Linked DNA regions of Homo sapiens: region 2 is linked to region 1. Evidence: promoter capture Hi-C in human tissues and cell types (Jung and others, 2019). All regions are on one chromosome and are shown on one strand. Each heading gives the region's core, a stretch centred on a gene start or on the middle of the fragment in contact. The rest is flanking DNA. Distances are from core to core; before and after follow the strand shown.

Region 1 (3,623 bases), core at 515-3,014:
TACTTAAGTGTCCAAAGTTAGAAAATTTCCTTTCTCTAGAAGACTAAATCACAACATAAGAGTGAATGGCAAGAATTTAAAGAATAACTGTGATGCATAATTTGTATTGAACTGTTGAGAGCTAACCACAAATATTAAAATGGGCTCTGTATTTAGAGCAACTAATTATAATACTGGGAAGCAAACTGGTTTTCTTTAAAACCATCTGCACTTTATGAGCTGAAGTGACAAGCAAACCTTACAGAAAATGAAGAATCAAACTTACATTTCATTTTAATCTGGGAAAGTCACCTGGGCTTTGTTTGCAAGGAAAGACTAAATTTATCAATTATTGAGGGTAAATGAAATAGTCTCTACACTAAAAGGAAAGTTTGGTTACACAGGCCTGAAAGAAGGTGTGTAGATTAGGAACGGAATCAAGAATTTTACAGCCTTGATTTGTAAGACAGAGTAAGTTTTCTTCATCCTTTTCCATTTCAGAATTAGAAACAACCCTATATCCCTACTTTATTTGCCATCAGATGCACAATCAAATAATGTTTCTATTCACGTAGACTTGAAAGGATCTTCATCCTGTGTGGGTTATTTTATTTTATAGTAGCCAAGGGAAAGAGGTTGCTGCCAATATGATGCTAAGGGCATGCAGAATAAAGACAGTCCTGGGCAACTAAACAGTCCACCTTTGTGCTGCGCTTGTGGAAGAAAAAAGCAAACCCATCACAACTTTGGGACTTGATCAACAGTGGGGAGTCACAAAACTCTTCTCAATCTCTGCATTTTAAATCTCCACCAAAAATAGCTCCTCTGTAATGGGGCTTAAAGTCCCATCCATGGCCAGTGATGGAGTACAGTACTTAATTGTTTCTGACTAGGGTCTCTGCATCAGCACTCTGAGAGTGTCTTCTAACTTTTAATCGCCTTCTGTGCTCTTTAATTAGACCTGTTCACAAGACAGTCAAAAGAAAACGCCTATCACTAAGCTTATCCAAGACGTTGAAACATGCCATTTCAGGAGTCCAGGAACTTTTGTACAAGTCTTAGCATCTTCCAGGATTAATCTGTTTTCTCTGGTTTCCTCTTCCTTAAATCAGGCACACTTGGGGGAAGGGAGAAGCTCTATGGTTATTAAGACAACTCCAATGTAAAGACACTGCCTGGTGGCAATTCCCTCCTTGCCTATTTCCGTTCTTTATTTTGTTCTTTTACCGCGTGTTACCTTTTGGCTACTAATAGGACCGGAGGGTAAAATGTCTTTTCTCTCCTTCGGAAGAGAAAGCTTTTGATCCCTCACTGAGAGCAATCCTAAGACTTTCTCCAGGGGGCTGGGATAACTAGGAAAGGGCTCTGCTCTCTCAGAAGGATTTCAGAGCCCAAACCATACAGCGTCCCTCTTGCTTAGGCGGGAGATGCAAACAGCTGAAGTGCCTTGGCCCCCACTGGTGACCCACAGTAGGACCAACCTCGCCCCGGCAGCGCCCCTGGCCTCAGGTCACTCACGCTCCTGGACTCACCTGGTGCTGAGGACCAGCGCAGGCAGGAGAGGCAGCAGGTAGTGCGCTGGGCTGAATTTCATGCTGCTGCCTGCCGGGGTCCTCCTTCCCTCGCTGCCTTCTCTCTCTCTCTTCGGGATCCTGTCGCTCCTTGGTGCCCGGCTCTGTCCCCAGCCAGTGATGAGCGCTCTTCCGAGGCGGAAAGGCGGAGACGGGCACACGAACGGACGCCTGGGGAAGGCAGGCGCTGGGAGCGAGGAGTATCTTCAGGAGTGATGTCACCGGCGAGGCGAGCCCTGCCGGGGATTGTTCGGCGCCGCCGCTCCGGAGCCCGGAGGGCGCGCCGTCACTCGCGCTGGAGGCGGCGCGGGGAGAGGGAGGGGGCGCCTCGCGATCGCCCCGTGCGCTTCGGTCACCGGGCTGCGCTCTGGTCAGTCGGGTGAGCACTGGCCAGGGGCGGATCATTTATTCCCGCTGCTCCCCAGGATGGCGCGGGGCGGGGCACGGAGAGTAGAAACCTAATCTGCCGATAATTGAACTTGCGTACTCGGCAGGAGATGAGACCCAATTCACTGGGAGAGACTTCCAGACGCGTAGGGTCCTAGGCAGGTGTCTCTCGCCGCTTAAACCGTGTTTGGAAGAACGTCGCTCTGGAGAGAGTGTTTAGAAGATTGTTCTAATTAGAACTGCATAATGATTTGCCTGAAACAGATGGAAGGAAGCGGGAGTAAGCAGCGTCCAGAAATGCAACCTCAGCCCGTCATGGCATTGCAATCTTCTTAACCCGTGAATGTTGACTGCAAAGAACCAAAGAACGTTTCGGGACCGTTAAGACATCTGCTGCTCTGGGTTTTGAAGATTTCTGATCTTCCTCTGATTTCAGTCGTCTGTACCAGCACCTGCCAATGGGGTTGGACCTGGTGGCTCAAGTTCACACACCTGAAGGAGTCCTTTTCCTCAGGTGAAACTCATCAAGGAGACCTAGCGGACAAAAACCATTAAAATGTTAACAGTAATCAGCTCGGAATGATGGTACTGGAAGGTAGAGGTTTTGTAGGTCATTTGGTTTTCTATATTTTCAAATGTTCTATCATAAGCATCCAATATTTAATAGGCTCTATTTAGAAATTTTAATTAGAAAAATTAAATAGCACAATTATAATCCAAAACACCATTTTGCAAAAGCAATTCTGAGAAACAGAACTACTATCTCTGCTACTGAGATATTCAATTCTAGGATATTTATAAGATGATATTGCATGTGTGTGTGTGTGTGTGTGTGTGTGTGTGTGTGTGTGAGTGAGAGTGAGAGAGAGAGAGAGAGAGAGAATGAGAATTCCATCTGGATATTATCCTGGTTATATAACTGTGTATAAGGCACTTCTTCATACAGTATTTAATTTAATCTTCACAAGAGCCATCCTAGTGAAATAGACGTTAATATCACTATTATAGATATGAGCAGACTGAATATCATCAAAATCTGACTATGCATATTAAAAAAAAGAACTGGTTCTACTAAGTCCTAAGAAAAATTCCACTGTTGCCTCAAACATCACAACTAGCACTCCTAGCCCAGTGTTTGACACAAAGTTGTGTTCAGTAAAGGGTGAGGTGCACCAAAGTCCCGAAAGATAATGGACAGCTGTGTCCAGGAATTCCTATCTAGAGGTTTCAGTTCATGTTCCAATTATTTCGGGGGCAAGCTCTTTACAGAAAAATTTAGATGATACATCCTCTTCAATCTCATTTTCGAAGACATTTGTAGGAAAAATGCATTTGCTGTAAAGCTTTATTTTAAAGAGGATGCAAATCTAAAAGGTTAACCATCTAATTTACTATTTTTTTTAAATGGGATTGAAGGTTAAGACATGTATGTAAAACAGATTTGCTTCAAAATCTTGAGCTGCTGAACTAGATGAGTAATAAGTTTTGAAAAGTGAATATTAGCCCCTTGGGCAATAATAATAAGATCCACAACATTATCGATCTTGTATATGCCTAATAAGTAGGCATATACAAATAAACTAACATGTGAATTGCATATCATTTAAGAGAAAAAAACGACACCACACTTTTCTAAAACAGAACTCTGATTCCAAGTAAAATAAAAACTCTGGTTTGCTCCTGCCA
Region 2 (3,654 bases), core at 615-3,114, 100 kb before region 1:
TAGCCGTATAGAAGCTATACAAAAATAGATAATAACTACATTTTACTTTAGAAATTTGGAAATCACAGTAACATGTGTACATTATGAAACTTAGATATTCTGCCAATGTTAAAGATTTTAATATAAACATTTACATTGTTCTACCCTAGATAGTTATTCTGCCATATAATAGTAATTTTCGTTCTTTGTGAAATAACAGTAATAGACTTCCACCTTCCCTTAATCTCACTGTACTTCTTCCCTCCAGGAATAAAGAAAAAAGTTATCAAATGGGAAGCCATATTGGTGAGCAAGCTTGAAAACAGAGGAAATGAAAAAGAACCTGATTGTGCCCATACATCCAAGGTGCTTTTCAGTTTGGCGTTTTCAATAATAATATAATAATAATAGAAATGAGTTGATATTTGCATTTTCTGCTTATATTTTTTACTTGATTCTAGGTTAGGGGAATGAAATTGTCACTCTCAAAATTCAACACATGATATCTGAAATAAAGCATTTGTGAGACAAAAATCCCCTTTCAAAATTCTGAGTCTAAATCTTCTAATAGGAAAATGCTCACTTAGCATTTTAATTTATTCAGATTAGGTCCAATTTTAACTTTATTAAAGATCACATGTGCCCATAGTGCATTTATTTATTTTCCCCATATTTATAGGGATGTATGTGTGTGTGTGTGTGTGTGTGTGTGTGTATATATATATATACACACACACACTTTAAAAGAGATTTATACATATATATGTATATATATGTGTGTGTATATATGTGTGTATATATGTATGTACATATATATGTGTGTATATATGTATGTACATATATGTTTGCATATATATACATATATACACATATATGTACATATATACATATATACACATATATGTACATATATACATATATACACATATATATACACATATATACATATATACATATATACATATATACACATATACATATATACATATATACACATATACACATATATACATATATACACATATATACGCATATATATACACATATATACACATATATACAGATATACATATATACACATATATACATATATACATATATATACATATATACACATATATATACATATACACATATATACATATATACATTTATACATATATACATATATACATATATATACATATATACATATATACATATATACATATATACATATATACATGTATACATATACACATATATATATATATACCTGTTTATTTGTGATAAACTATATCTAAACAGTCTTGTATTGCTGCCATGGATAAGAATTAATATACTTGGTTAAGTCAGAAATTCTAAGAGATTCTGAGGTATTGTGTCTTGGTTGCTGGTAAATGCTAGCAGTAAATGGAATTTATTTAATTTTTTCTCATATTATCCATTGAAACAATTTAAAATTTAAAATAGTGTTTCCATAAAATATATTGGGCAGAGAAAATTCAAATTAATTTGGATAGGCTACCCGATAAAATAATGCATGACTTTTCTTATTCAACTTCATTAGAAATGTATTTGTTTAAGTCAACTCAAAATGTGGATGTAATCTATTAAGAAAGCTGGTAAAGTAAAAAGAAACCAATAAAGAGAATCAGAACTATCATCTTTATTCTATCTTTACATAGTTATATGCATTAGTTTTCTAATTCTGCCTAAAAAAATTGTTAACTCCACCAATTTAGTGGCTTTTAACAACATACATTTGTTATCTACAATTCTATAGATCAGAAATTGAGTACCACACAGCTGACATTTCTGTATAGGGCCTCAAAATATAAACAATAATAAATTAATAAGAGTAGTTTGAGAAGGATATATTTCCAAATTCATTCCATTTGTGGGTAGAATTTGGCATCTCAAGTTTGTAGAACTGAGATCTCCATGTCTTTGATATTTGTACCCCTCCATCTTCAAGTCAGCAATGACATATTCACTTTTTCTCACACTTTAAGTCTTTCTGACTTCCCTTTATGTCTTCACCTAAGGAAAAGGTCTGCTTTTCATCTAAGAGAAAGGTTTATTTGATTAGATTGGGTTCAATCAGATCATCTAAATAATATCTTTCTTTTAAACTGAACTGATTAGTACTCTTAATTACATTTGTGAAGTCTGTTTTGCTATTTTCAGGTAACATATTCATATGAGTAACACCATGGTGAAAATCCTGCCAACGACATTGTATAACCACAGTAATTTTACTTTTTGTTTTTGTTTTTTATTGAGTCTAGCGTGTCTACCTTCTTTTTAAACAGCTATAATAGGTAATGCAAATGCATACCATGAGCACATCCTTCTCTTTTTTCCTGTGCTTACGTTTATACTACCTTTCCTTAGGCCTAGATAAAGCACTAGGCCTTTAAGACACATAATCTTACTTAATATTAAAAATGGTAGGAAGCAATCACGATCTTTATGAACAGAAGTGAGCTAAGTTTTAGTTAGAGTTTGATAATTTGCGGAAAAATACAAAGCTTCCAAGTGAAATTACTAGAATTTGAACTAGGGTGTCTCTGAGTTACAAGCTTTCCTCTCTATGAAATAACCAGAAATGGCAGCGAAACTTTTTTAACCTGTAAATTTCCATTCCCCCTCTGTTAGTTTCCTATTGCTTCATAATAAAGCACCACAAATTCGGTGGCTTAAAACAACAGAAATGTATTCTCTCAAAGTTCTGGAGGCTGGAAATCTGAAATCAAGCTCTCTCTCCTAACTTGTGGTGGTGGCCAGCATTCCTTGGTGTTTCTCATCTTGCAGCTGTATAATCCTGATCTCGGCCTAAGCTGCAACAGGGCTTTCTTCCTTCTGTGTGTCTGTGACTTCACATGATGTTACCCCATTGTGCGTGTGTGTGTGTGTGTGTGTGTGTGTGTGTGTGTGTGTGTGTGTTGTAATCTACATTATATATCCTCTTGTTTAATAAAGACACCAGTCATTGGATTAAGAGCCCACTTTACTTCAGTAGGACCCATCTTAATTTACATGAAGACCCTATTTTCAAGTAAGGTCACATTCACAGGTACCAGGTGTTAGGAATTCAACATATCTTTTATGGAGAATATTTTATAGCTGCTGTTTTTAATAATATGAGTTTACTTGAAAACAAAGAAGAGCACTGAAATGTGTTCCCCATCAACAAAATGTAACCCATGCTTATGTGTGAAAATAAGATGCAAAGAACTTTGAGTCGTGAAAAATTGCAATGTTACACAAGCCATATGAATGAGGAAAATCTTGTTTTTTTTACGTACTTTTCAAATTTAGTAGTTTCACCAAAATAGTAAGAATATATTAACAAATATCTCAGTATATCTCAGCTATTCGATGAGACTCTCAGATGTTTCTGTATTTTAAAGGCAACACAGAAAAAAACTGTGAAATATGGTAACTGAGGAGAAAGAAAAGACAATAAACAAAATAACAACCAAAATACTACAGATGTGAGTAAGGTCAATTGATCATTAGCTGCTTAGTTTGGACAGGTGTGATTGATTATCTATGCTTGCTATATTTGAATTGAGGAAGATACTGTGGCAGAACAATGACTAGGAAATAGGTGGAGATGTGGAGGATACATACAAGGGTTGTCAATTGCAAATAAAGTAAGAATTTTCTGACAGTTGAATTGGCCCAAAT

Evidence for each region. Contacts are between HindIII fragments. The study calls those that stand out against the background at their distance.
Region 2: a fragment that was not itself captured here is called in contact with the fragment with the promoter of LUZP2 in region 1 in 2 of the 25 tissues and cell types used here (hippocampus and small bowel).

The regions. Positions count from the first base shown.
Region 1 is chr11:24,495,194-24,498,816 of GRCh38, reverse strand. LUZP2 (leucine zipper protein 2) reads right to left here and starts at 1,764. Exons shown (of 12, transcript NM_001009909.4): 1 at 1,512-1,764. The coding sequence starts at 1,573. The HindIII fragment of the contact is 10,753 bases long and covers 1-3,623 here.
Region 2 is chr11:24,599,428-24,603,081 of GRCh38, reverse strand. All of the region lies in intron 1 of LUZP2 (leucine zipper protein 2), which reads right to left. Among named protein-coding and RNA genes, the nearest start is that of LUZP2, 100 kb to the right of the region's middle. The HindIII fragment of the contact is 3,577 bases long and covers 76-3,652 here.